Linked DNA regions of Homo sapiens: region 2 is linked to region 1. Evidence: promoter capture Hi-C in human tissues and cell types (Jung and others, 2019). All regions are on one chromosome and are shown on one strand. The core of a region is centred on a gene start or on the middle of the fragment in contact, and the rest is flanking DNA. Distances in the headings are between cores, read along the strand shown. Region 1 holds the start of RASD2 (RASD family member 2). Region 2 holds the start of TXN2 (thioredoxin 2).

Evidence for each region. The method cuts DNA at HindIII sites, captures the fragments that hold promoters and counts their contacts. A contact is called where the count stands out against the background at its distance.
Region 2: the fragment with the promoter of TXN2 here is called in contact with the fragment with the promoter of RASD2 in region 1 in 3 of the 25 tissues and cell types used here (aorta, dorsolateral prefrontal cortex and stomach).

The regions. Positions count from the first base shown.
Region 1 is chr22:35,538,813-35,543,561 of GRCh38, forward strand. It overlaps RASD2 (RASD family member 2), which reads left to right and starts at 2,019. Exons shown (of 3, transcript NM_014310.4): 1 at 2,019-2,688. RefSeq lists enhancers at 681-1,243, 1,244-1,806, 1,807-2,369 and a silencer at 1,491-1,710. The HindIII fragment of the contact is 17,894 bases long and covers 1-4,749 here.
Region 2 is chr22:36,478,232-36,483,146 of GRCh38, forward strand. TXN2 (thioredoxin 2) reads right to left here and starts at 3,409. Exons shown (of 4, transcript NM_012473.4): 1 at 3,333-3,409; 2 at 2,344-2,606. The coding sequence starts at 2,606. RefSeq lists an enhancer at 3,839-4,785. The HindIII fragment of the contact is 22,621 bases long and covers 1-4,915 here.

The DNA of each region.
Region 1 (4,749 bases), core at 769-3,268:
GAAGCGTGCCACCCTGCTCACCTCCCACTGCCAAGTTCACTGCCAGCTCAAGGCTCACAGCCTGTGTGTGTCATGCCCAGCACAAACCCTCCCGGGCTGAAGCCAGTTCCCAGAGGCAAAGTCTGGATGTGGAAAATGCACCAGGCTGCAATCCTGCCACTTGCCACCAGGTGACTTTGGGCACATCCCCTTAGCCCCTCTGTGGCCTAAATTGGGGCATTAAACACAATCAGGTAGTACAGGTACTGCACCCTCCACCCCCACCTGCCCCATCCTCTCTGGTTAACTTTCCTGGAGAATCTCAAGATGTTACAGAGACAAGCAAAGCAAGTCACTTTCCATATTCAAAGTCCCAGGCCATTTTAGTACTTCTGTCATTCTGTGGACCCATCAATATCATACCCATTTTAGAGATGGCACAACCAGGACCCAGAGACTTTTCATGACGGCCCAGGGTCAGATATCTAGGTAGTTACGGAGACAGGACTTGAACGCCAGTCTCTCAGCCAATGGAGCTGACCCCTCAGGTGCCCTCCCAGACCCCTGCGTCCTCTCATGAGGTAGGGAGGCCAGATCTGGGTTGGGGGTGAGGCTGGCAGACATCCCTGAGGTCCAGGGATCTGGAACTGAGGGACACAGACACAGCATCCCATCCCTTTGCTGTATCACACAACGAGAACATTCTCTTTTAAGCCTCCTGATATGTGAAGGAGAAAGTCTCTGTTAGGTGCTAATGGGTATTTAACACCTCTCCAAACCTTGCCAATCTCCCTTTTTCACTGAGGGCACACATCTCAAGCCTTGGCAGGCCACGGTTTCCAGCTGGAATTTAATAACCTTGCTTTGTTTTCACTGTGCTTATTTTAACTCTTACTTTCTATTTATGGCAAGTGATACTGATTTCCCATTTAAGGCAGTGATATAATGATTCTCTAAAAAAACGTGTTTAAGGGGTGGGGAAAGTGGATCTGATATTTTAAAAAATATATTAAGTAATAAGTGGTGTGGAGATATGGCCCAGTGAGAAGGCCCGATGTCTGGCCTAGGTCAAGCCCCTCATTTAAAGGTGGGGAGGGAGAATGCAGGCAGGAGACGCAATGCTCAAGGCACCTGGTGTGTCCCCGTCGGCCGTGGTCTCTGAGACTCGCATGCCTCGAAGACCTCTGGCTACTAAGCCTAGGTGACTCCCCGCCCCTCTGGGCGACACGTGCATGGCCCATGTGCCAGTCCGCAGGGTCCCGTGGGCACCGTGAGCTCGGGAGGGAGGCGGCGGCTGGGACAGGCAGGTTGGACACCTGGGAGGGCACCCGGGGACTTCCGCGAAGGAGGAGGGCGCTGGAACCGTGGCGCGCTCGACCTGGCCGGGCGCAAGCCGCTGGAGACCCCGGCCGAGTGGGCAGGCGGCCGGACCCCATGCGGGTCACCTGCGGCCAGGCCGGGCGTGCGTGTGAGCGCGTGCGCAGACGTCAGCCTCCGAGGCCCGGGCCGCCTTCTGGGCAAGGTGCGCGCGCCCAGCGGCCCCGGCCCCACGCGCCCGGACACGCGGAACCGCAGACCGCGGCGCCCCGGAGGCCGCGAAAGGGATGGGCGGGGCCGGGCCGCGGGACCCGCCTCCCATTGGCCGGGCGCCGGGGCGAGGCGGGGCGCCGGGGTGGGGCGGGGCGAGCGGGCTCTGGGGGGCAGACGCTGGCGCTGGGCGGCGGGAGGCGCGGCTCGCGGGGGGCCGAAGGAGCAGGTGGGCGACGCTCGCAGGGGCGCGGGAGGGTGCCGCTGGGACCGTCATCAGGAGCCTGGGGTTCTGCCACCTTTCGGAGGGATCAGCGACCTCTTCGCCCTGCGGGTGACAGTGGGGCATCTGCCTGCGAGAGGGGGAAGGAGGGAGAACCCAGGGCCACACACAAAGTTCTCCTCATCTGGGGACAGGAGGAGGTGAAGGAGGAGGAGCCGGGTTGATGCTAACTTGGAGCTGCGAAACCTTGGGGCGGCGTTCAAGGCCCCCTCCCACACGCGCGCAGAGCAGAGCGCCCTGCTCCTCCTTCAGCTGCTGGCGTCGCCGCGCGGGGAGAAAGAAGCCGTCCCTCCGGCGCTGGGAGAGCTGCAGAGCCGCGGGCAGAGAAGGAGGCCGCGGCCGAGCCCGGCAGCCCGATACCCCCCATCCGAGCGACCCCCTTTGGGGCAGGCGGAGAAGGTGGCATAGGCGACCAGGAGGGTTCGCCCACCTGGGACACGCACCCACAGTCACCTCCAAAGGACCCCCCCTCCCCAAGTCTCTAGGAGCTGCTCCTTCATCACTGGAGTCGCCCCTACCTCTCTGCCCCCAGCCCGAGAGCCCCAGGCGGGGACCCCCGGATCGGACGTCCCCAAGCCTCCGGGCACCTGGCTCAGCAGGAGGCCCCCGGCTCGGGGCAGGGCAGGGCCGGCGGCGGCGAGCCGGAGCCCGCCCCCTGCCCGGGCCCCGCCGAGCCCTCGGAGCCCACCCATGGGGCACCTGCCCCTTGCGCCTCCTTGCCCGGCCGCGCCCAGCCCGGCGTCCCGAGCAGCGCAGGGGAGGATCCCCGCGCAGTGACCCGGGAGCCACCACAGACTCTGGGAGGCTCGGCGGCTGGAGCAGCAGGCAGCTCCCCGCAGCTCCCGGCGCTTCCAGGCAGCTCTCTGAGCCGTGCCAGAGGCCCGGCCCGCCATTCCCAGGTAGGAGACGCCCCAACAGAGCTGGGCATCTGGGGGAAGTGGAGCAGCCGGGAAGAAAGGGTAGAGGCTTGGAGGAGGAAAGCTCAGTGATTCCTTAGATGACCAGAGAAAGTGAAATTGATTGAGCACCTACTATGTGCCGGGATCGTCTGGCAACTTTGCATACCTAGAGAGAATTAAATTCGTTGAGCACCTACTGTATGTGTCAAACTGAGTGCTATACCCTTGACTTAATCCCAGGAAAGAAAGATTTATTGAGCTTCTACTATGTGCTAGTTTTGGTGCCACAGGCTTTGCATTTAAAGAGCTAGAGTAATAGCCCATTTAAATAGGAGGAAACGGGGGCTCAGGGAAGACGAGTCAACTACCACAAACACTCCTGTCCCTCTTCTGGAGCTGGCTGCAGCCTGCATTACCTGGAGGTGGGGAAGGAAGATTAAGAAGCTCCTTCGTTATCCAGAGTTCTTGAGCTTTTTCTGGGTTGGTGCAGAGTGAGTTTCCTGGATGATTCCCTTCCCAGGAGGGGTTTCCTGTAACTTAGCTGTCTTGGAGGGCCCGGAAGGCAGCTCTGGAGGCCTCTCTGTGCCCTCCCCTCCCCTTGTCCCCAGCACCAGGAGGATGACAGGGGATGTTGTCCAAGACCTCATGGAAGGTGGGAAGCCAGGCTGGGAGGGAGCAGCCAGGTCAGGAGCCAGTGAATCAAGCCTCCTGTGGTGTCAGAGACAAGATGGGGTCCCTGCAAGACCTGCGCCTGCATTCCAGTCCAGCCTCACCAGGCTGCTCTAGGCAGCCCCACGACTGCCAAGATAAAGTGCCACGAAGAAAAGAACCCAGCATGTGTTCAGGTTTGCTGCGGGTCAAGAGCTGGGTCAGCCTCCAGACTTATTGGAAACCCAGGGCCACACAGGGGGTTTATGTCTTACCATTAACAGAGGAATAACCTGAGCCCCAGGAAGCCAAGTCATTTGCCCAGGGCTGCCGGGCTGGTGAGAGGCAGAGTTGGCCTGCCAGAAGTGGATGCCTGCCTACCTTCTACCACCTGAGCTGCCAAGGGTGGTGGGGTTGGCTTTGCCAAGCTCCCGGACTCTCAGAGTGGCAGCTGGAAGCCAGTGATGGCAATGTGCGTGTCCAAAGAGGCTGAGTGTGCACTGATGGAGGAGGCATGGGGGTGTGGAGGAGGGGCAGTGCAGTGAAACAGGCTCTGGGGCATACACCGGGAGGACACGTCCAGACTCTTGTCCTGCTGCCTGTGCCCGTGTGACCCCTTCATCTTTCAGGCAGGCCCTGGGAGAGAGGCTCAAGGGAGAAGTGGTGAATCCACAGGTGCACTTGCTCAGAGGTGGCTGGCAGGGTTAGGGGAGAATCCTGGGAGGTGCCTGCCCCCTTTCCGCTCCGCTGCCTGCAGGGAGAGAGGGAGTGAGAATATAGTATGTCTCGGCGTCATCCCCCCGCCTGATGCCAGCTGAGGCTTCACTGAGACAGACAGTGTTTTGGAAAAGACCAGTTTTGGCTGGGGGTGGGTTTTCATAGAGTTAAGAGCCCAGACTTTGAAGCCAAACAGCCTGGTTCTGATCCCAGCCCAGCTAGTCATCTGCTGTGTGAACTGGGGCAAGTGACTTAACCTCTCTGAGCATCAGTGTCCCCATCAGTCAAGTGGGCTGATGGATGCCTTCCTGGCTGTGGTTACTGTGCCCCCAGGATGGCGTCCCCTCATCTCTGCTCTGGGAACTTTCTGGCTTCCACCTGTCCTCAGAATGGCCCTGTGATGGGGTCAGTAGTCACAGTATGTGCATTCAGATACCTGTGCCGCTAGGGGGTCTCCGTTGAATTTCCTGCCTCTCTGAGCCTCCTCTCTCTGATTCCTTACTTCCCCTCTCTGATTCCCTGCCTCCTCTCTCTGACTTCCTGAAATCCATTCAGTCACTGATATTGGACTCTAAATTCCCAAAGGGCTCTTCAAACTCATCCCTGTCTGCTCCTCGCTGTATGAGGTCAGCCTGGCTGAGGATGGAGAAGGGAGAACAGGCTGCAGAGGAGAGATGTGCCTACGAGGGTGCCCAT
Region 2 (4,915 bases), core at 2,159-4,658, 940 kb after region 1:
TAGGTATTCCCCTCTCGCTGGGGAAGCTCATCCAGGACAGGCCTGGTGCTGTCATCTCTATGTATGTGGCACCAAGGAAAGTGCCTGGCACTGAATGAACAACTCACACCACCCCACTTCCTTACTGAACAAAATGAGGCATTATCCCATTTATTGTTCATTTCGGAAGGCCTCTCTGGAATGCTCACTACACCAGGAGGCCAAGACAGTTCCACCTTTCACAAACCCCTGGCTGACAACTCCTATTTTATTCTCAGCACTTACTTATTTATTTTTGAGATGGAGTCTCACTCTGTTGCCCAGGCTGGAGTGCAATGGCGCGATCTCGGCTCACTGCAACTTCCGCCTCCCGGGTTCAAGCAATTCTCCTGCCTCAGCCTCCTGAGTAGCAGGTGTGGTGGTGCACACCGCACCCAGCCAGGCCTGACGGTTTTAAATGCTGAAAAATAGGCCGGGCATAATGGCTCACACCTGTAATCCTAGCACTCTGGGAGGCCAAGGCGGGAGAGAATCACCTGTGGTCAGGAGTTTGAGAGACTAGCCTGGCCAATATGGTGAAACCCCGTCTCTACTAAAAATACAAAAAAATTATCTGGGTGGTAGTCCCAACTACTTGGGAGGCTGAGGCAGGAAAATTGTTTTAACTCGGGAGGTGGAGGTTGCAGTGAGCTGACTGAACCACTGCAGTCCAGCCTGGGTGACAGAATGAGACTCTGTCTCAAAAACAAAAAAGGAAAAAAAACCCTCAGGCCTGGCGCAGTGGTTCATGCCTGTAATCCTAGCACTTTGGGAGGCCAAGGTGGGAGGATTGCTTGAGATCAGGAGGTAGAGACTGCAGTGAGCCGTGATCGCACCACTGCACTCTACATTCTAGCCTGGGTGACAGAGTGAGACCTTGTCTCTAAAAGAAGAAAAACAAAAACAACTCATAACACTGAAAAACCCAGTGTGCAAGACCTTATCTCCTATTACAAGTGAAGAAAGGGAGCACAAAGATATCAAGTGGCCTGCCCAAGGCCACAGGGTGAGTCAGAGAAACAACTGGAAAGCCAGCGAAACAATCTGTCAGAGACCTGACCAGAAGGCCCTTCAATTTCTTTTTCTTTTTTTTTTTTTTTGAGATGGAGTTTCCCTCTGTCACCCAGGCTGGAGTGCAATGGCGCGATCTCAGCTCACTGCAACCTCCACCTCCCAGGTTCAAGCGATTCTCCTGCCTCAGCCTCTTGGGTAGCTGGGATTACAGGTGCCCGCCACCACGCCCGATTAATTTTTGTATTTTTGGTAGAGATGGGGTTTCACTATGTTGGCTGGGCAGGTCTCAAACTCCTGACCTCAGGTAATCCACCTGCCTCGGCCTCTGAAAGTGCTGGGATTACAGGTGTGAGCCACTGCGTCCGACCTGAAGGCCCCTGAATTTTTAACTTATGCTACACTGGTTTCTCCCAGGATGCCTCATTCAGAGGGCTTTGTCCAGCTTTTGTGTAGTTGGGTGTCTAGCCAGGCCCCAAAGATCTAGAAATGAAAAAGCCCAGGCTAAAATTCAGAAGGCCAGAGGGACTTAAATATCTCTAAAGCAAACTCAGATAGCACTGAAAGGAAACTCCTTCCTATGCCCTGTATGCTTGGGCACCACGGTAGTGACACCGATAACTTTTTTTTTTTTTTTTTGAGATGGAATTTCACTCTTTTTGCCCAGGCTGGAGTGTAATGGCGCGATCTTCAGCTCACTACAAACACTACCTCTTAGGTTCAAGTGATTCTCCTGCCTCAGCCTCCCGAGTAGCTGGGATTACAGGCACACACCACCACGCCTAGCTAATTTTGTATTTTTAATAGAGACAGGGTATCACCATGTTGGCCAGGCTGGTCTTGAACTCCTGACCTCAGGTGATCTGCCCGCCTTGGCCTCCCAAAGTGCTGGGATTACAGGCATGAGCCACCGCACCCGGCCGACACTGATAACTTTTTGCCAGCCCTTCTTGCGGTTTTCATGGCAGGATGTTAACATCAGCTTATCTGCAGGGCCAGGAACTGGTATACACCAAAAGCAAGGTGACAGTCATATTTTTCCAACTCTGGTCCATGCTAAAGATGACGCTGAGCTTTCTGGGGATTGAGAAACAGAACATGTGTTTCCCAGCACTAACAGTCAGCTTTGCAGACTGTTCACTTGTCTGTCTTCCACCAGACTGCATTCCCCTTGAGGGCAGGGACTGGGCCTGACCAGTCTGTATATTGAGTCTACATATGAGCAGCATAGAACATGGCCGTGGGACACAGCAGGCATTCAATAAATACTTGAACAAGTAGGACCCTAGTCTTCTGTGGACCCCCAATACTCACTGTGCGTGGAAATCCACAACCACTGGTGTCTCACTGTTGACCACTCGGTCTTGAAAGTCAGGTCCATCCTGGATATTAAAGGTTGTCAAGGAGATCCTCGTGGTGTATATTGTCCGGGCTGGGTTGGGTGTTACAGTCAGGCCACCAGGACTGCATTGTGGGGTCTGCAGGGCTCTGGAAGTGAGGGGTGGCCACTGACCCTGAGAGGGCTTCCTGGAGATGACAGAGGCCAGGAACCTCCTCAGAAGAAGTCGCTGAGCCATCTGTGAGGGAAAGAGGCAGAAGAACTGGGGCACACAAAAGGAAGTCGACACACTAGAAAAAGATTTGGGGAGTACTCAGGGCTCAGGAAGAGGCAGAGTTGGAAGCAAAATGCAAGGAAATCATATGTAAGATTTGTAGCGTGGAAGTGAGGAAGCAATGAGAATCAAAGGGAAGGAACAGCTAGGCAAACCAGAAGGACAGGAAAACTGGCTTCACAACCAAAAAGAAATCGGGATTTAGATTATAACGGAAGAATGGGAGGAAGAAACCAACAGATTTAATAATGTATGTAAGGACCAAGTACCTTACACACATTATTGGTCTTCCTACAGCAACTTCCAGGAAGTTGCTATTGTACTGCCCACACTGCGAGTAAGGGAAGGAATACGAGGCTCAAGTAAGTTAAGTGACATGCCCAAAGTAACCCCGCTATTAAATGACAGCCAACACTGGAACCCAGGGTCGTCTGAAAAGATGAAACGCAACAATTCAAGGAGGAACTAAGAGTGTGAGAGGAACCAAAAACGAAGAGACATGTACTGGAGGGAACCAATAAAGAAGGGACATGTGTGGAGGGAACTGGGAAAAATCGGACATCACCAGGGACCCTGGCTCTCCGGCGAGCTAGATCCCCCCGCCCGCCCGGCCGCCAGCCTGCGCAGGAACGCGCTCGCGGCATGCCTCAGCCGCGACACCACCTCGAGCCACCCCCACAGGGCTCCTACCTCCCTGCAATGCGAGCGGAGGGATGCACAGCCTAGCCCTCCCTGCCTGTCAAGGGCACGCCTGTCGTCACTTCCTCGGGGGGGGACGTACATAACGTCACTTCCGGGTACAGGCAGGCGGAAGAGCGTCCCTCTCCAATTTTTTTTTTTTTTTTTTTTTTTTTTGAGCCAGAGTCTCGCTCTGTTGCCAGGCTGGGGTGCAGTGGCGCGATCTCGGCTCACTGCAACCTCCGCCTTCCGGGTTCAAGCGATTCTCCTGCCTCAGCCTCCCGACTAGAGGCGCGCGCCACCACGCCCAGCTAATTTTTTTATTTTTAGTAGAGACGGGGTTTCACCACGTTGGCCAGGACGGTCTCGATCTTTTGACCTCGTGATCCGCCCGCCTCGGCTTCTCAGAGGGTTGTGATTACGGGCGTGAGCCACAGCGCCCATCTGTCCCTCTCCAATTTGAGGGGCGTCTGGGATTTTCCGCCAATGGGAATGGCGGGCTGAGGCACAGTTGAAGGGGCGGGGCCTCAGCTACGGACCGGAAGCAATGGGCAGGCCGTCGGGGAACGGATTGGAAGAGGCGGGCGGGCCCTGGTCTGGGCGAAGGCGGGGGCGGGGCGGGGCGGAAACGGAAGGGGTGGGCGGGCCCTAGAGGAGGGACCGGAAGAGGAGGTGATGGAGCAGGGGTAGCAATGGAGGGTACTTAAGGGAGAAAAGGCAGTTGAGAAGTCCCCGTGGTTTTGGATTTTGCAAACTCTTGTTGCTTTATTTTATTTACATATATTTATTTATTAATGACAGAGTCTCGCTCTGTCTCCCAGGCTACAGTGCAGTGGCGTGATCTCCGCTCACTGCAACATCCAAATCCCGGGTTCAAGTGATTTTCCTGCCTCAGCCTCCCAGGTAGCTGGGATTACAGGCGCGCGCCACCACGCCGGGCTGATTTTTGTATTTTTAGTAGAGACGGAGTTTCGCCATGTTGGCCAGGCTGGTCTGGAACTCCTGAGCTCAAGTGATCCGCCCGCTTCAGCCTCCCAAAGTGCTGGGATTACAGGCGTGAGCCACCTTGCCTGGCCTCCTGTTTATAACTGGCGCTGTCCACTTCCTACAGATGTTGACAGGTTCTGTTTCTCCATTTAATATGTAAAGCTAAGCTCCTCAAAGGCATGATGCCCTTTATATGTAAAAGAACTCAACCGGGAGTTTAGGGGCCATCCTTTAAGTGGCCCTCGTCTGTGTCCGCCTAAAGGAAAACAAATGAAAACTGAGGCGAGCCTAATTTAAGCAGGGAGTTTTTTTGGGTCAAGTTCGAAGACTGCAACTCGGAGCAGAGATTCAAGTTGTCCTGAATATACACTCGGATTAGCAGCAGCTGAAAGAGCGTTTTTAAAAGAACAGGCAGTTTCCAAATTGTTGATCAAAGTTTTTTTTTTTTTTTTTTTTTTTTTTGAGACAGAGTCTCGCTCTTGTTGCCCAGGCTGGAGTGCAGTGGCGCGATCTCGGCTCACTGCAACCTCTGCCTCCTGGGTTCAAGGGATTCTTCTCCCTCTGCCTCCCCAGTAGCTGGGACTACAGGCGTGCCTCACCACGCCTAG